4 separate regions of the Homo sapiens genome follow, and all the other regions are linked to region 1. Evidence: promoter capture Hi-C in 16 types of primary human blood cells and fetal thymus (Javierre and others, 2016). All regions are on one chromosome and are shown on one strand. The core of a region is centred on a gene start or on the middle of the fragment in contact, and the rest is flanking DNA. Distances in the headings are between cores, read along the strand shown.

Region 1 (5,031 bases), core at 1,518-4,017:
GCAAAGTTACAGTTGTGCAAACACCATCAGGAACCCTTGAGATATGGGAGAAATGCTTTGCACATTTCATAAGCTGTAATCAGAAAATCCTGAGTTGGCCCCCACTTCTATTACTAGCCTAAAATAAGTGATCATGAAAGTGTTGCTATCGCTAAAAGATTCACTCATTACAATTATTAAATCTTTAATACACAAAAACCAAGTTGGTATCTTTTGTTGTTGTTGTTGTTTTGTTTTGAGGTAGTATTGAGAATAATCTATGCAATTAATTTTTACCAACACCACACATCTAAATATACCAGTATTTGGTGAGAATATGAATGGGAAAACAGTCAACATTAAATAGCCTCAATGGAGAGAGGTACTAATTTGCCAAATTCCAGAACGACATTTTTAAAGGACCTCTCTCTATTCAGAACAGTCCTAACACTAAATAGATGACCTAAAATGCTGTCCTCTATACCTGGGACTAGTTGCCAAAAGAAACAGGTTAATAAAGGGCTGACCAACTTAAGGAATGCTGATTGTCCAGGCAGAGCTTGGAGAGCCTCCAATACCCTGCCATGACCCATTGGCACTTGGAGTATCAGGATCCTTCTCCTTACAACAGAAACTTCGTGTTTCTTATTCATATATTATTCTCACTTTCAGGTTTTATGAACCTCAGATTGTTTTTTCCATAAAGAAAATAAAATTTTGTTTAGGGTTTCTCCTAGGCTCAAGCCATTTAAAAATTAAAAAAAGAAAACAACAGACCTCCTTTCTAGATAAGAAAAATTTACCTGGACATTACGGGTAACAGATAAAAATATCATGATCATAAATCATTGACATGAAAGACATATTATAAATTATACTGACAGGAGTCTTCCCATGGTAATTTTTACCAAGAGCTCTGCCTGGAGTACCAGGTACAAGGTTGCTCCAGGGGTGGAGGAGGGGCAGCTTCTCACAGTTGTCCTCTTTTACCTACTTCTCTAAAATCATCATGCAAAAAATATTAGATAGATGAAAGGCTAGGATAGCCTAGGGTAATACCAGAGTATAATCTCTTCTTTAAGTTTTTTGTTTGTTTGTTTGTTTGCTTGTTTTCTTTTTGTAACTCCTTTTTTTAAAAACAAATATATATATATAATCAACGTTTTGAGTATGATGCCTGACATCTCTCAACTTGGGTGCTCTCATAAATCTTTGACCCAGGCAACGTAGCCTCTGAATAAATCTATTATGTTACAATTTGCATCTTCTTTCTATACATAGACATCAACAGCTGGAGAGAATCACTTAGGTATGCTCTTCTCTACCTAGTTAACACACCTGTCATCTCTTCCATGAACGTGTCCACAGTAACAGTTCAAGTTGGCTAACAGTCCATGAACTAACACTATTCTCTTAAGGATAAACCATCCACATGCACTGGCAGATGAAGAGTAAGATTCTGTTGCCTTCATGTGAGGTCTCAGCATTTTAGAAACCTATTTACAAGTGATTCTTACTCCTGGGGTGAAGCTAATTGATGCCAATGCAGAGATAAAAATACTAAAAGACACAGGAACACAGACGTTATCACAATGAAATGATATTTTGCTTTAATTAAATAACTTTGGGATTGAAACAGGTAAAATATTGTCTGCGTTTCACTTTGAAGGAAAAGCGTGGTGGGGGGGAGGGGGGCGGGTGAAGAAAGGCACAGTTAACTACCAGGAAACTAAAGAGACTGAGTTAGGCAAGATGTTTGACTAAAGTCACCTGAATTCCTCATGCCACTTGCTTTTACAGCCAAGAATAGACAATTAAGAGCAATTTTCAAGCACATTCCCTTCTCGGGGGACCATGTAGGGTAAGAGGATGTTCCAAAATGAGCGACACTAGTCTTAATCAGGGGACACTGCATTCCAAAAGGTTAATGAGATGCAATAGCGAGAGAATCAGTGCAAAAAGAGAGAGGTTCAAAATACTAAACAATTTCCACTTTGTTCTCATTTGCTCCAATTAAGAGCTGGTGAAGCAGCTTTTCTGTATTCCACGCATTCGCTACTCTCTAGAGCAGATATAACTATTCAAGAAGAAAAAAATAGAGCTATGGGGAGGGGGAAGTCTACTATTAAGTTATCGTGAAAGTCCGGATTACATCCCCACCTCCCCAGCCCCCAGTCTCTGAGCAGATACACTTTGCCTCTAACTCAGAGCCTCTGCCAGTCGCTTTTCTGATTAATGTTTTTCCTCAAATTTAGAGAGTATTGCAAGGCAGGAGAAAGGCGGAATTATTTTTTTCCATATTTCATATATTCAGAATTCCCTGTGAAAATGTTAGATAAACAAGAGAGGTACAAAAATGGTAAGAGGAATGGGGGGATGGTTATACAAATGGAAATAACCTCCTTGGCATAAAAAATAGCCCCAAAATGCCACACACTGAGTTCTTCTGAGCATTCCAATCTCTAAAAATGAGCATATAAACTGCATATACATTTCCGAAAACAAGCAGGAAAACACAAACATTGCAAGACAACAAGAACTGAGATCTGAGGAGTCCCGTGACTTACCTTCTTTATGGATCCTCAAAGTTCACCAAGGAAAATTTACAATCCTCTAGCTTGCCGTGCACTACTCTATTTTCTTTTCTTCTTTTTATTTTTTTTTAAGTCATATCGGAGAAAAATAATCAGTTTTCAAAGGTTCCATGTATCTGATCTTCCAGCACCAGCAAAAACGTGTCCAAGAGACTCCGCCAAAAAGTAAGCCAAAAACTCATCAAAGGCAAAAGCAGAAGGGGGAGTAGGGAAGCAAGGAGGTGGCGAAAGGCGGGGGGTGGGGGCTACAGACAGTGAGCCCAAGTGCCTAGAGAATATTGTCACGTTGTTGAAATCTCCTACTGTACGAAATACCTGCTTTGGTTGTCACACTAACACATACACACACACGGACACTCACACATTCTCTTTCATGCAAAGCAGGCACCCACACTCACAAACACACACAAACACACGCACTCACACAAACCAGTGTAATGAAAACTGTCAGTAGTAACCTCCAAGAGCTGCTGTGTGCTGCAGATGGTACGGCTCGCTGTTACCTTCCCAGATCTGTGAAGGATCAAATGAACATCCAAAATCAGGGGGGCCCCAGGACTAGGTAGATTCCGGATCCCTCTCCCCCAGGCAGATGCATCAAGCCAGTAGCAGGTCAATCAGCAGAGGTGTCTGCTTGCAGGGTGCCCCGGATTATGGCAAGGTTATTAATCTCGAAGTGCTGCATCCCCCCACCCCCAACATTCGGCAGCCTGCATTGAGATGATTGCCAGAGCTGTGTCTGTCCCTGTTCTACTGCATTTGCTCAGCCCTCTGATGCTGCAAGTGAGACACGGTGGAGGCAAGAATACTAATAAGGTGGTTAGCTACAGTTTCTTCAAGGCAGTCGGCATGCAGTACAGTAAATGTGTACTTCCCAGTGCTCCGTGTGTGAGCCTGCGTGTCTGCAGGGAGGGCAGTGAATCCATCTCCGGCCAGAAGACGAAATGTTTTGTATCCTGCCTGGGAGAACTATATCATCATCGGAATCATCACTGTCCTGCAACGGCGTTGTCTGTGACAGTATTTTGCTTGGGATAAAGAAGGGGGGTTAATGGTTTAGAAGCCTAGAACTGGCATTTAAAAGAGAAAAAAAAAAAATGTCTGGGGAGACAAATTAGCTTTATAAATAGGATCCAAGGAGACCGAGGAAAATTTTAACATGCTGCTTCCCTGGCTGTTAAATGGAAATACAAAGCAATTTCAAAAACCAGCTCCAGACTATAAAGCTTGGAGCTGGCAACAAGTATCTGAATTTGACTGATGGGACTATAGATAAATGGATTCCTGGTAATATAAAAAGTTTGCTCATGCATTCTGCTTCACAGCCATGGATCCGATGTATATAGCAATTTAGGTACAGTTCATTCATTTTTAAACATGAATTTAGACTTGACACCTGCACAGTTTTACTTTAATGTACACTTTTAAATCACATAGCTATGAAATTGTAGAGAACATCTGTGTGGGACAGTGTCACTAGAGGGATTGGTTGACAATTGTCCATCGTAAGCATTATAATATATAACATTTTTGCCTGAAACGAGCTTAAAGTTTTCAGAAAAAAAGTATACATCTCTTTTAGTACCAAGCAATGAAATTAAAATACATGTGTAATATGCTAAATAAGTTATCAGCCTCTAGAGGGCTAAATTTTCTGCTTCTATGATTCAGTTTCATATTAAAATACCTTTTCATTAGTTCAGAACACTCACTATATTCTTTAAGTTGAATTAAATTGCTATTATCTGGAAAAGTATTGGACAGTTGGAGAAGGTAGATAAAGGTGAGTTATAGTGCAGTGTAATACCAGGTATTGCCAGCAGATGTCACAAAAGAAAACACAGGTAAAATAATTCTTCCAAGAACGGCAAGAATTTAATCTTATTTAGTAAACACAGATCTTAATAAAATTGATGGGACTAATATGAAAAAATTGAATTTTTACAAAATTTTAAGGTGCAAAGAAGAACTTAGAGAATAACTTACATTTTATATTTTTCCAAATATCCCTCTCAAATCACCATTTTTCATAACTCTGGTAGATTTTCTATGATTAATATTGGAAAAAACACTGTGCCACTAACTAAGATTAGACTTGCATATAATACTATTTCTATTAGTGATTTTATTTTGTTCTATAAAGTATAGCATCAACATATTGTATGTAATATAGCAGCTACTAGATTAAACTACAAAACAGTTTGTAAATTGGATGAATACAATTAGTCTATAAAAATTAGTTTGAAAGAATTATTCATGTTTAGGAGTCAAACATTAAAAAAGGCAACACATATGTAGAATGTACAAAGACTCTTGACTGGTCTTTATCAATTCTATTTATGTTAATGTGTGAAATGTTTAAAAGACTCTAGCATGTCATCTTAGCCTTCAGTTACTTAAATATAACTAATGGGTACATACCACCTCGCAGCACTAATTGGCAAAATTGTCAGTAAAA
Region 2 (5,031 bases), core at 1,079-3,578, 1.8 Mb after region 1:
ATACACAAAGTATGATACTCAAAGAGAGACCAGATGATTGAGGTTTAAATACTCTCTTCCTAGGAGAGAAGTGTATGGACCTGGGAGACAGATATTATCTTGTAAGTGATTCTCTTATGGAAGCTGAATGGGACAAGTTACAGGGAGGTGAGGGCCAGAACTGCACAGGAACAAAGGTTGCTTTATTATGCAGATAAAGTCCCCAGGTAGTCTCCAGAGCTACCCTCAGAACAGATGAAAAGTCTGTCTGGATGCAGTGACAACTCCTAATCTCTTCTCTCCTCCAGTGGTTGATCTTTTCCTGGTTATTTGATGACATTCCTATTGAGGAAGTAAGAACAATTGTGTTCGTTTGGAAAGATGCTTTCATAGATAAGAAAATTCTAGAAAGAGTCCCTTCCAGTGCTTCTTTGGGAAAGAGAATCAGAGACAGGGAGGGAGTAGAAGATACGAGAGAGACCTTGGTTCTGAGGCCTTTCAATTCTCAAAGCACTCAGTACATCAAAGTGCCACATTTGGGGGAATCATATTCTGTGCCCCAACAATTTGTCTTCCAACCATTAGTCTTGACTCTTGGTCTTCCCTCTACAGTCACAATATGGCTTCCACAGCTCCTAAAATTGTATCCCCATACAACCACATTCAAAGGTTGGGAGAAATAGGAAGTTACCTCTTGATCAGGATTAAAAATATTTCTCTTAATAGTCATGAATTATCTTCTGGTTTCATGGGTCAGGGTAAATCATATGCCCAAGGCTTGGCAAGAGAGGCTAGAAAAATGAAGAACTGGCATATGCAGTAAGAGGCAGGTTCTGCCACATAGGAAAGTGGCCATCATATGCAGCCAAAAGTGCTAGTCCCAGGAGGCTACTCAGAGAGAGACGGCAGTGTTTTGGCCGCCATCTTGGCATCTTCTCCAGAAACAGCAAACACACACACATAGAGAAGTTGCCCAGAAATATTAAGTCTGTGAATCAAAACTCAAAGAGAAAGAAAGTCTTTACTTCAGATTTTAAAAATAAAATAAAAAGTCTTCTTGGAACAACCCTTTGACAGGACAGGAAAGTAGTAAATCTTTCTAAAGAGCAATTTGGCACCATGATCCAAAAGCCTTGAAGAATGAGCTTATCTTTTCTCTTAAGTAATTCCACTTATAGTAATCTATCATAAAGAAATAATCAGAGATGTAATGCAAGAAGTATGTGCAAAGATGCCCATCAAGCATTGTTGATAATAGTGAAAAACAGAACAACCTAAATGCTTAATAACACTTGAATGATTAAATAAATTATAACAAAATGGCATTCAATGTAGCTATGTGAAAACTATATTTAGAGGATTCTGGTTCAAGATGGCTGACTACAGACATTGGACACTCACCCTCTCCAGAATGAAGAACCAAAATTATGAATAATCACACCTCTAATAGGACATCCAGGAGAGAACTCCAGAGTCCAACAGAGAAGTTACAGGAAACACCTGAGGCACAGAAGGAGAAAGAAGTGAGCAACCAGCTCAGCTGAGATCAACATAGACTGGCTACATGGATAAAACATAATCCAACCATATGCTGCCTGTAAGAAATACACATTACCTATAAAGACACATATAGACTGGAAGTAGAGGGATGAAAAAAGATATTCCATGCAAATGGAAACCAAAAATGAGCAGCAGTAGCTATACTTATATCAGATTTTAAAAGACTTTAAGCCAAAAACAGCATAGAAAGAAATAAAGAAGGTCATTATTTAATGATAAAGGGATGAATCTAGCAAGAGGCTATAACAATTATAAATATATATGCACCCAACACTGGAGTGCTCAGATTCATAAAGAAAATATCAGTAGATCTAAAGAAAGAAATAGCAATACAATAATAGTGAGGGACCTCAACACCTCATTCTCAGCATTACATAGATCATTCAGACAGGGAAAAAAATTGGACTTAAACTGGACTTTAGACCAAATGAACCTAACAGGCAGACATGTACAGAACATTTTATCCAACAACTGCAGAATATACATTCTTCTCATGAACATATAGAACTTTCTCCAGGAGTGACTATATACTATGCCACAAAAGAAGTCTCAACAAATTTTTAAAAATCAAAATGATATCAAGTATATTCTCAGACTACAATAGAGTAAAACTAGAAATGAATACCAACAGGAACTTTGGAAACTATACATATACCTAGAAATTAAACAATATGCTCCTGAATGATCATTGGGTCAATGAAGAAATTAAGATGAAAATAAAAAAATTTCTTGAAACAAATTAAAATGGGAATACAACATACCAAATCTGTGGGACATAGCAAAAGCCATGCTAAGCAAGAAATTTATAGCAATAAACACCTACATAAAAGGAAAAAAAAACAGAAATATTTCAAATAAACCATCGAATGATAATACACCACAAAGAACTAGAAAAGCAAGAACAAACCAAACCCAAAATTGATAGAAGGAAAGAAATAACAAGGATCAGAGCAGAACTAAATAGAGACTAAAAAACAGTACAAAGGAACAATAAAATTTAAAGCTGGTTCTTCTAAAAGATCATAAAATTGATAAACCACTAACTAGACTAACCAAGAAAAAAAACAAATAAAACAAATAAGACATGAAAAAGGAGACATTTCAACTGATACCACAGAAGTACAAAAAAAGTCAGAGTATTATGAACAACTGTACACTGACAAAGTGGAAAATCTAAGGGAAATGGATAAATTCCTAAAAACATACAACCTACCAAGATTTAATCAGGAATAAAGAGAAAACCTGAACAGACCAATAACCAGCAGCAAGATGGAATAAGTAATAAAAAGTCTCCCAACAAAGAAAATCCCAGGAGTGGATGGATTCACTGCATAATACTACCAAATGCACAAAAAAGAACTAATACCAATTCTTTTTTAACTATTCCAAAAAATTAAAGATGGAATGCTCCCTGACTCATTCTACAAAGCCAGCATTAACCTGATGTCAAAACCAGACAAGAACACACACACACAAAAAGAAAACTATCAGCCAATATCTCTGATGAATATAAATGCAAAAATCCTCAGCAAAATACTAGGAAATGAAATCCAACAACATGTCAAAAAGATCATATTCCATGATCAAGTGGGATTTATATAATGGTTGCAAGGATGGTTCAAAATACACAAATCAATAAACATAATACATTGCATCAACAAAATAAATGACAAAAAACGCATGATAATCTCAGTAAATGCAGAAAAGCGTTTGACAAAATTCAACACCTCTTCATGATAAAAACTCTAAGCAAACTAGGCATAGAAGGACCATACCTTAAAATAGTAAATGAAATATATGACAAACCCACAGCTAACATCATACTTAACGGGAATTTGTTGAAAGCCTTTTCCATAAGAACTGGAACAAGGCAAGGATGCCTACTTTGACCACTCATATTTCACATAGTACTGGAAATCCTAGCCAGAGAAATCAGGCAAGAAAAAGAAATAAAAGGCATCCAAATTGGAATAGAGGGATTCAAATTGTTCCCTTTTGGCCAGACGCAGTGGTCCACGCCTGTAATCCCAGCACTTTGGGGGACCGAGGCTGGTGGATCACAAGATCAGAAGATCAAGACCATCCTGGCTAACACGGAGAAACCCTGTCTCCACTAAAAATACAAAAAATTAGCCAGGCACTGTGGCAGGTGCCTATAGTCCCAGCTACTCGGGAGGCTGAGGCAGGAGAATGGCATGAACCCAGGAGGTGGAGCTTGCAGTGAGCCGAGATTGTGCCACTGCACTCCAGCCTGGACAACAGAGCAAGACTCTGTCTCAAAAAAAAAAAAGTTCCTTTTTGCAGATGCACGATCTTCTATCTAGAAAAACATAAAAGATTTCACCAGAAAACTTTTAGAACTGATAAATTCAATAAATTTGCAGTATACAAAATGAACATACAAAAATCATAAGCATTTTATACATCAGTAATGAAAAGACAAAAAAGTCAAGAAGGCAATCCCATTTAAAATAGCTAACAAAAAAAAGTACCTGGGAATATATTTAACCAAGGAGATGAAAGATCTCTACTAGGAAAACTACAAAACTCTGATGAAGGGAATTGAAAAGAATACAAACAAGTGGGAAAACATCCCATGCTCATGGAACGGGAGGATTAATATTGTTAAAATGACCATATTGACCAAAGCAACCTAGGGATTCAATGCAATCGCTATCAAAACGGCAACATCATTTTTCATAGAAATATTTTAAAAATTCTAAAATTTGTATGGAACCAAAAAGAGCCTGAATAGCCAAAGAAATCCTGAGCAAAAAGAATGAAGCTGGAGGCATCACACTACCTGACTTCAGAATGTATTACAAGGCTCCAGTAACCAAAACAGCACGATATTGATACACAAATAGACACATAGACTGACAGAAGAGAACAGAGAAGCCAAAAATGAATCCGCATATTTGCAGCGAGCTCATCTTCAACAAAGCTGCCAATAACATTCACTGGGGAAAGGACACCCTTTTCCATAAATGGTGCTGAAAAAGCTGGCTAACCATACGCAGGAGAATGAAACTTGATCCCTATCTTTCACCATACACAAAAGTGAACTCAAGATGGATTAAGGACTTAAATCTAAGACCCAAACCTATAAAACGAATGGAAGAAAATATTTTTAAAACTCCCCAAGACATGGTCTAGGTAGAGATTTTATGGCTAAGACCTTAAAAGGCAACAAAAATAGACAAATTGAACTATAATAAACTAAAAAGCTTCTGCACAGCAAAACAGACACATCATCAGAGTGAAGAGACAACCTTTTGGATGGGAGAAAGTATTTACAAATTACTCATCCAACAGGAGACTAATATCCAGAATATACAAGGAATTCAACCATCTCAACAGTTAAAAAACACATAATCCCATTAAGAAGTAGGCAAAGGACATGAATAGACATTTCTCAAAAGAAGACATAAAAATGGACAACAGGTCTATGAAAAATGTTCAACATCATTTGAGAAATGAAAATCAAAACCA
Region 3 (5,031 bases), core at 1,888-4,387, 1.1 Mb after region 1:
AATAAAATGTGTGCTGTGTTCTCCAGCTCTGGGCCATGCAGAAGCAGTTATGTCTAGGAAGCTCTGATCAATATTACCTTTCCAAACTGTACAAATATCCCAGACCAATTGCCTATATATTATTTATGCTGTGAAGATAACATTTAGGCAATACATAATTAAACAACAACTATCTCTGGAGACACAAGTAGAACATTGATTATGAAATAATCCACCCTTGACAAAAGGAAGGAAAGATGTCCTTCAGGGTTTGACAACTATTTTTTAATAAAACCAGACAAGCAGCTTGGCAGTTGCTTTTCCTGGTAGAGGTCCCCAACCTTTAGCAACGTATACCTCAAATGAATATCATTACTTATATTCTTATCTGCTTACCTCTAAATTATAGTTACCTGTATTACAAGCCTAATTCAATCATTGGTCCCTAAACACAAGGAAGGCAGTGGTTTTTTGCAATGTGTTTCCCAAGGCAGAAGTTATTCTGTCAGCAGCAGAAATGGTGATTGGATGATACGAAATTGTATTTCATTACTTGACTCAAAACATATATAGTAAAATCCTGTTAAACGTGCCTTATTGTGCCCAAGTTTTCCTTGCTCTAGATGCAAGGTGCTCCATCATACAGCTGTCATGATAACACCAAAAGGCTGTGGCAGAGTTATCTTATACATTCACACAATTCTTATAATAGGGGCTGCCAGCATTCTGAATGGAATGTAATAGATATTAATTTGCACACCCAGGTGTGAATATTGTGATTTCCTTTTACCACCTTCCAGCTTGGAAATAAATGAGCTTCTACTGTTTGTTGTTGCTCCTTTCCTCATTCCAGATGTTGTACCTTGCTTTTAGGTATGATAATTACACATCTAAAAGCTGAACACTCTTTGAATGCTATAAAAAAACCCACCAGATTGCATGAAAGTGTTTTTGTCAATAGGGAAAAAAATCTTACGCAGTTCATAAATATCATTAAATCAATGCAAGCTTTAAATTAGCTTTTTTCACCTGTTATACATATGTTTAATCACACATATGTGTATTTATAAACTATATACATAATGTTTTCTCACATCGATCATGAAATTTCATAAAGATCAACTTCTACTCCAAGAAAAGTTCCCAATAAGTTTAATGTCAATAAAAATATAATCGAAGCAGTATATTAAGGGGTGACAAGATATAATAGTTATTTCCAACTGATGTTTCCTGGCACACCATCAATCCACTCAGGGTTTCTAGCTAATGATCTTAGCAAATGTCTCAAGACTTCATGGAGCCCTGGCTCACCAGGCATAGTAGCAAGGATGCCAACATTGGCATCTTTGTTGAAGTAATTAATTGATTAATAAATGGTAACCAAGATTATACAGTCTGATGATGACTGATTTGACACATCAGTTAATCAGGGATGTGTCTTCATGCTGAATTAGCAATGGCAGCCACAAGAAAGGAGAAAAATAAGGGGTAAGAAGAAAGTATAGCAGCCAAGATGATAGCATCAAGGCCTTTGCTAAGAGTTAAAATGGAAACAAAAGGAGGTTTCTTTGGTTTTATTTTGTTGTTGTGGTCTAGTATCATTAAACAACTAATTTTGTCTGGGTTTCAGTTGTACGTTCATCTGACTCCCTTTTATGAAATTAGCAAAAGTCACTAAAAGAACAAAATAGATAGAAAATAAAATGCTGAAGTCAAATACACACATAAACACATGTAACATATGAAAACAAATATACATATACATATATATATGCATACATACATATATATAAAGTTCTCAAAATAGAGAAGGAAGCCTATATTAAACGAAGGATTTGGTCATGATATTACTAATTCATGTCATTTGACTACCATTTTCAAAGTATACACTGTGTTCTAGGAATTCTGCTAAGCCCTGGAGATTTAGCATGAAATATAAATTCCTTTGCCTTTGAGAGCCTCAGAATCTCATGAAGAACAGCAAGTAATCAGGGTTATACTGGAGATAAGTCTGGGATTCTGTAGGTGCCCACAAAAAAGTGGCATGACCTAAACTGTGGACGTAGGGAAGGCCTCTAAGAAGGGGTAGTGTTTAACAGACAGCCACTGAGAGCCAAATGGGAGTTAGGTGTTTCAACAAGGCAGGAGGCAAGCAAAGAAGGCACAATGTACAAGACAAAATAAAATGTACTGAGGAGACTAAAATAATTCTCATGGTTGATGGTGTGGTTTGGAAAAGTCTCTTTCACTTAGCTTTATGCATCAGTGTATAGACAATAGGGCTACAGTTAGATCTGAATCCAAATCCTCAATGCACCACCCAGTAGCTTATCACTTGGGGCAATATTACTTAACCTCCGTCAGCCTTAGCTTCCCTATGTGGAGAAAGACGATAAGAGTTGCACCCTTCTCATACGGCACAGACACATAGTAAATTCAAAAATCAATAAATTCAACCTTGAATATCATTAAGCATTATTACTATTATTGGGAATCATTGATCCATTTTTTTTGTCTATCCCTTAAAGAAAGATAATTTCTATTTGGCCCTCTCTCTATTTATTCCTGGAGAGAAACTGTCCGTGTCTTAGGGAAAGTAAGGCTCACTACAGACTGTCACAGAGACAGTAGAATGGCAAATTGTGCTACATCACCCTGGATCTGAGAATGGTCAAATCATTATACTTGTCTATTGCCCTTTCAGGTAACCCCTGAAGGTGCTCCATCCTATAGCTGTTGGGATGCTGGTCCTGATGTAGCTATTGGCATCTGCAAATGCTGAAGATCCAATAAACCTCCCGGTTCACTTCACTGCCTTAACTTCCACCTCAATGCCATGGCTCAGCAATCTCTAGCTAGATCCACACTTGTTCCATTATGACATGGTGATTTTAAATGCCTTCAAACTACACAGGAGGATAAAAAGCAAAGAAAAAGACTCTTCTTTTTCTAACCACAGATACCACTTTTATTTTTCCAGCTGCTGCAGCGAGAATTGATGATTGAAAGCCAATAAAGCTTCTATTGACTCAGAGTATAAGGGCCTTGATTTATCTCAACACTTGGCAGCAAAATAAAAACAACAAGAATAATACAGGTGTGTCCTTTGCTGTAAATAATATAGATTTACTATCTGCAAATTTCATAACCTTGATGCTGGAAACGTACTGACTCAAGTACGTCAGGCAACACTAGATGCTGGCAATCAATTGTTTACAGCGTTGACATTTTCTAGCATCTATTTTAAGATTGTGAAGTTTTAAACTGCTATTTTTCATTGCCCATACTGACATTTTCACCAAGCTTTCCTTAGCGAAGCTGGTACCTTGGCTTGTTAATCCAAGAAGCGCAGCTAGATCTTCAAAGTTTCTCAGGACTGTGTAAAGAGTAATGTATAAAACCATATCCCCCATCCTCCCTCAAAAAATTACCTGTTGTGAGAAGTCTAACTCTCAGAATTTGGGTCAAAAATTTGCTTCGTAATTTATTCTTGTGAGTGCTGCCAAGTCAGCTTATTGTTTATTTAAAAATAAAAAATAACTGGGCCGTTTTGTGTATGTAAATATAGGTTGAGATTTGGTTGGTTCAAGATGAGGAAATAATTGAAATTATTGCTTTCTTTATTGTCATATTCCAAGGCTTAGGGGCATACAAACTCTATAGTAAAAATGCACTAGACTTTCTGTAAGGTATTTAACAGATACCATCCTATGATTTTATTGTGAATTAAATAGAAAAAAATGAGAGAATTTAGAGTAACATGAAACCAAAGCTGGCCTGAATAGAGGCATCCCAGAAAAGTTCATGTATATCAAATTAGGTGAAGATTATCCTTGAAACAAAGGGACACTGGATTTAGAACTGTCTTGAAAATCAATTAAAACATAAAGAATTTGCTTACAAAATTGTGAATAATAACCTGGAATGAATAACTTAATAAGTTATATGACAAATCAAAATTTAAAATGGCCTTGGTGAAACTGAAATAGTATGCCAGAACTATAAAGGGCAAAGAAAGCAAAACAAAAATTAGTACATATTTATTTATGCACCTTATACAAATGATATATGATTTCATATATTAATAATCTAATAAATCAGGCAACATTATTCTCTTTTTACAGATCAAGAAACAAAGGCCTAAAAAAGCTCAGTTAATTTATCAGTATTGGATAGCTAGTGAATGGCAAAGACAAAATTCAAAGCCAATCATTGTTTTACTATATAATATTTTCCATATATATTAAAATAAGCATAAAATCCTGAATAGAGGTTCAAAAACTAAGACAGTTATGGAATATATTTAAAATATATTTGTTTTGGAAAAAAAGATTAAGGATTATTTGAACTTCAAAATAAGTAACAAATATAGTGTATCACTATTGCCAAAATAGTAATCATAGATGAAATAATATGAATTCATATGGTCACAAGAAGTAAAGTGCTAATCCCATTTTACCTTGAGCTGGTCATACTAATCTGCAGTATTTAATTCTGTTTTAAGCAATGCATTTTAAGGAGATTTATAACCATGAGCATGTCTTTAGAAGCAGAAAAACAGGGTGATCTGAAAACCATGGCATTTATTATTATACTTATCACTATTATCATTATTGTTGCCATCAACCTTATTACTGTATTTTCAAATTCTAGCATTTATTTAGTGCTTATTATATACTGGCTACCAGTCTGAACACTTTGCACATGTTACTTCATCTGATTCAAGCACCAGTTTACCCTCCCTTGTATCCTATTCTCACATTTTTACTCCAGCTCTTACCATAACAAACAGCTGCATGCAGGTACAACCTCTTGATAGTACCTCATCTCAGGCTCATCATGCAACACAAATCTCCTCTAATATTTCGATGTGAGATGCTGAGGCAACTAAGAAATGGGAAGGAGTTAATAGCCTATGTCCAGTGAGAGGTGGGAGTTAGAGGATAAACACTACCCTCTTCCTTGAAGCAGGAAATCCTGGGGGGCACTTAGCAGGATCTCTATTGGATCAACTCCCAGCTGCCTTTAGTAGGTATGGGAACAAGAATTTAC
Region 4 (5,031 bases), core at 670-3,169, 1.0 Mb after region 1:
CTTACTGTTCTCTATGCATTCATTCTTACTCATTGCAATTTATTTTTTCCCCAGCATCTAGGAGTATTAAATAGCAAATCAGATAAGGTTTAAACCTTCCATTGGCTATCTACTGAACTACTTAGATTAAAACTTATAATTCCTTGGCATGGCTTACCAGGTCCTTTGATCTAGTACCTACCTAACCCCTCCAGTCCTTACCTAGTGTTTTTCCCTCAATTATTCTCCATGCTTAGCATTATTGGTCTTTATTCTATTTCTAAGACACGAGTTCCTTCTGTCCCACACAGGGATTTTACATTTATTATGCTCCTTGCCTGGAATGACTTTATCCTAAACATTTGCATAGGTGAGAACTTCTTGCTGACAGTGCTCAAGTCACATGCCACCTTCTCAATGGATCCCTCTAAAACAATCCAGTCTAATTCTATCTGCTAAGATTATGCCACATCACACTGTTTTCTTTCTTTAAAATAATTAGCACCATATAAATTTATATATTACTTTGCTTACTAATTGTTTGTTTCACTGTGCTAGAATATAAGCTTTAAGAACAGGGACCTTCATGTTGTCACCATCATTTATCAAATGCCTAGAAAGTACATAGCATATAGTAGGTCATCAACAGACATATGCTGGGTTAGTGAAAACGGACATGTAAGCAAGCACTAGACAGAAAAGCCTGGTATATTTCATGGTTATACTAATAAATAGGATGGATCCACAACCAATATTTGGTTTGGATGTTAGGACTGATGATACCACATCTTCACCAAAAGGATATTAAAATGTTTATTAATTACATAATGAGACTTTTGGGGGATAACAGGAAGGGCTTCCCAAGATAGTCTGAAAATGGCTTGAAAGATGATGTAAAGAGACTGGCTTGAGATTTTTATTATGGATACATATGGAACCACCACAGTGAGTATTTTGGCACATGGACAGGTGCTTACATGGTTTAAATCTGTCATTGCCAAAGGAGCAAACATCAAACATTTTTTATAAACTTGTCCAGATATAAGGAGGAGGGGACGATAGAGATGAACCTTAAACCCTGTTAAGCAGTCAAACATCCAAAAGTGAAGTCAGGAGATTTAGTACAGAATGCCATTCCAAAGGGTCCAGATTGTATAAAAGTTGTAAGTTGGAGATTCTTCTTTTTCTTTTTGTTTTGAGATGGAGTCTCACTGTGTCACCAGGCTGGAGTGCAGTGGCACAATCTCCGCTCACTGCAAGCTCCGCCTCCCTGGTCCAAGTTATTCCCCTGTCTCAGCCTCCCGAATAGCTGGGAGTACAGTTGCCTGCCACGACACCCAGCTAATTTTTGTATTTTTAGTAGAGATGAGGTTTCACCATGTTAGCCAGGATGGTCTCTATCTCTTGACCTTGTGATCCACCCACCTCAGCTCCCAAAGTGCTGGGATTACAGGCATGAGCCACCACACCCAGCCCTGGAGATTCTTGAAGCATGATAAAGTTTACCTTTTAGAAGGATTGATCTGCCTGCACTTTGGAGAAAATAATAGGGAGATGAGGTAGAAAATCAAGAGGACATGAGGAAGCCATTGTAATGACCTAGGTAAGAGACACTGGAAGCCCCAAAATAGAGATTCTTGAAGGCTATGAAGAGTTAGGGACAAACTTGAGAGGCATATAATTCTTAATGATAAACAATTGAATTGTCTTGACATCTTAACTAATTTGGATTCTGACAAACAACTACAACAAGTTCAACATTATTCACCAGCTACTTAAAGTAGTTTAAAGTGAAATGCCCCCTCAACATGAAAAATGCTGGGCTCCGTGGACCACTTTCGGAAATAAATCCTCCAAAGATTGCAATTGCATGAGAACACCAAGTAGGTCATGCCAAGGAAAAGATATGTTAAAGGCAAGTAGCCCATACTTCAAATGATATGTTGAGCAGACTCCAGATACTTACAAGACTGGAGGTTGTGTTGATATTTGAGTGTTCAGATCCTATGTCAAGCTCAGTTTCCTATTGACTTCAAATCTTAGGCTGTTCCACTGAGATATGCAACATTGTCCCTATACTTGCAATGGTAGATGAGGAGTTCTTGGAATCTTGACTCAAATATTCAGGATTCTGGCAAGGGAACTGGGCTCTGTCAGTTTTTTCATAGAGATATCCTTGCCTAAAGGGACAGAAACAAAGAAGTTTCCAAAATATTCTGTTTATTAGTAGGTTGTGCTGTTAATGAATAACTGTAGCTAAGCATCATATGCCTTGAGGACTGGGATTTGCAGCTTGTCCCTCCTACTTCACATCTACTGTTCAAAAGAGGTCCTCCCTTCTTCTGGACCATCCTTATAACACTCGTGTCCCTGTTGCCAAAAATCCTGCATGTGCTTTCAAGTGAGCTGACTGGTCCTCCTTATGCAGTCTTTCTCTTTACTGTAATGTCATTGTTGTATCATGGGCTTCTGTTGCCATGATGATAACAGTAAAGAATCAGTGTAGATTACTAGAAATCATATTTGCTTTTAAGGTGGTCCATATCTGGTTATGGCAAATTTACCCCTAATTATATACCTAAGGACCTATAAAGGAGAAACTCTCCCCACTGCTACTTCGTAGGACTAGCTCTTTTCTGGAAAATAAAGCAGAAGTCAGAGGAAAGAAGCACATAACCAGGAAGAAGTCAGTGGGAAGATACAGGTAGTAAATTTCATTCTCTTCTTATTAAATGTATTTTCCAGGAAATATTTTAAGTTACTTCACAGATCCATTAAATCTTCTTCTCATTTTCAACAGGAGAGATAGATACAAGTAATTTCACTATTCTGCCTTTTTGGCTTCTACCATAAAATGAGTCATTTGTATTAGAGCAGCAATTTCCAAACATTTTTAGGCCATGGACAGCTGCTGTTGAATGACTGTATTTTGAAAAATGGAAACTACTAAGATAACTTCATTTATTACATAATTTCGTTTTATATTTTTTATTAATCTAAATTGTACATGTACTCTCAAAATGAGAGCTTCTGATAAGCTAAATTGGGTTTTCTTTTTCTTACTTTTTTTAAACTACAAAAACTTAAAAGTTACAAAGGAAAATCACATATATACAAAATAACAATGAGTGTGTGTGTGTATAGCAAAAGTAACAAAAAATCATATAGTAGACGTATTAGTCCATTTTCACACTGCTATAGAAACTGCCCTAGACTGGGTAATTTATAAAGAAAAGAGGTTTAATTGACTCATAGTTCCAAATGGCTGGGGAGGCCATAGGAAACTTACATTCATGGCAGATGGTGAAGGGGAAACAAGCTTAGACATTCTCACATGGTGTCAGGAGAGAGAAGAGTGAGTAATGAAGAGGGAAGAGCCCCTTATAAAACCATCAGATCTCATGAGAACTCACTCACTATCATGAGAACAGCATGGGAGAAACCACCCCCATGGTCCAATCACCTCCCACCAGATCTCTCTCTAGACATGTAGGGATTACAGGGATTATAATTCAAGAGGAGATTTGGGTGGGGACAGAGCCAAACAATATCATTCTGCTCTGGCTCCTCCCAAATCTCATGTCCTCACATTTCAAAATTAATCATGCCTTCCCAGCAGTCCTCCAAAATCTTAATTCATTCCAGCATTAACCCAAAATACCAAGTCCAAAGTCTCATCTGACACATGTCAAGTTTCCAAAACCAATCATGTCTTCCCAACAATCCCCCAAAGTCTTAACTCTTTCCAGCATTAACTCAAAAGTCCAAGTCCAAAATCTCATCTGAGACAAGTAAAGTCTGTCTATTAATTTGTAATTTATTCTGATTGCCTATGAGCCTGTAAAATCAAAAGCAAGTTAGTTCCTTCCAAGATAAAATGGGGGTATGGGAATTAGGTAAATGCTCCCATTACAAATGGGAGAAATTGGCCAAAACAAAGGGGCTACATGCCCCCTGCAAGCCTGAAATCCAGCAGGGCAGTCATTAAAACTTAAGGCTCCTAAATGATCTCTCCTGACTCCATGTCTTAAATCCAGGTCATACTGATGCAACAGGTAGGTTTCCACAGTGTTGAGCAGCTCTGTCCCTGTGGCTTTTCGGGGTACAGTCTTCCTCCCAGCTGCTTTCATGGGCTGGCACTGAGTGTCTGTGGCTTTTCCAGGTGCACAGTGCAAGCTGTCAGTGGATCTGACATTCTGGGGTCTGGAGGACAGTGGCCCTCTTCTCATAGCTCCACTAATTAGTGCCTCAGTGGGGACTCTGTGTAAGGGCTCCAACCCCACATTTCCCTGCTGTACTGCATTAGCAGAGGTTCTCCATGAGGGTTCTACCCCTGCAGCAAACCTCTCTGGACATCAGGCATTTCCATACATCCTCTGAAATCTAGGTGGAGGTTCCCAAACATCAATTATTGACTTCTGTGTACCCACAGGCACACACCACATGGAAGCCATGAAGGCTTGGGGCTTGCACCCTCTGAAGCAATGGCCTGAGCTGTACAATGGTCCCTTTTAGCCAAGGCCGGGACACAGGGTGCCAACTCCCAAGGTTGCACAGAGTAGCAGGAGGACCCTGTGCCGGCTCACAAAACCATTTTTTCCTCCTAGGACTCTGGGTCTGTGATCAGAGGGGTTACCATGAAGGTCTCTGACATTCCCTGGAGACACTTTTCCCATTGTCTTGGCAATTAACATTAAGCTCCTCATTATTTAGGCAAATTTCTGCAGCAAGCTTGAATTTCTCCCCAGAAAATGTGTTTTTGTTTTTTATCACATTGTCAGGCTGCAAATTTTCCAAACCTTTATGTTCTGATTCCCTTTTAAGCATAAGTTCCAATTTTAGATCATCTCTCTCAAGTTCAAGGTTCACACATCACTAGGGCAGGGGTGAAATGTCACCTGTCTCTTTGCTAAAGCATAACAAAAATGACCTTTGCTCCAGTTCCTAATAAGTTTCTCATCTCCATCTGGGACCACCTTGGCCTGGACTTCATTGTTCACATTTCTATCAGCATTTTGGTCAAAACCATTCAACAAGTCTCTAGGAAGCTGC

What was found. Contacts are between HindIII fragments. The CHiCAGO score rates a contact against its expected background, and 5 or more counts as called.
Region 2: a contact is called between a fragment that was not itself captured here and the fragment with the promoter of LRRC4C in region 1, in 1 of 17 cell types (M2 macrophages). The highest score is 7.3, in M2 macrophages.
Region 3: a fragment that was not itself captured here is called in contact with the fragment with the promoter of LRRC4C in region 1 in 1 of 17 cell types (M2 macrophages); the score reaches 7.5 in M2 macrophages.
Region 4: a contact is called between a fragment that was not itself captured here and the fragment with the promoter of LRRC4C in region 1, in 3 of 17 cell types (M2 macrophages, megakaryocytes and M0 macrophages). The highest score is 11.5, in M2 macrophages.

What each region holds. Positions count from the first base shown.
Region 1 is chr11:41,456,885-41,461,915 of GRCh38, forward strand. It overlaps LRRC4C (leucine rich repeat containing 4C), which reads right to left and starts at 2,768. Exons shown (of 7, transcript NM_001258419.2): 1 at 2,547-2,768. The HindIII fragment of the contact is 6,701 bases long and covers 1-3,797 here.
Region 2 is chr11:43,290,792-43,295,822 of GRCh38, forward strand. No RefSeq gene overlaps it. Among named protein-coding and RNA genes, the nearest start is that of API5, 19 kb to the right of the region's middle. The HindIII fragment of the contact is 4,872 bases long and covers 1-4,764 here.
Region 3 is chr11:42,547,069-42,552,099 of GRCh38, forward strand. No RefSeq gene overlaps it. Among named protein-coding and RNA genes, the nearest start is that of LINC02740, 300 kb to the left of the region's middle. The HindIII fragment of the contact is 285 bases long and covers 2,996-3,280 here.
Region 4 is chr11:42,499,514-42,504,544 of GRCh38, forward strand. No RefSeq gene overlaps it. Among named protein-coding and RNA genes, the nearest start is that of LINC02740, 250 kb to the left of the region's middle. The HindIII fragment of the contact is 2,753 bases long and covers 544-3,296 here.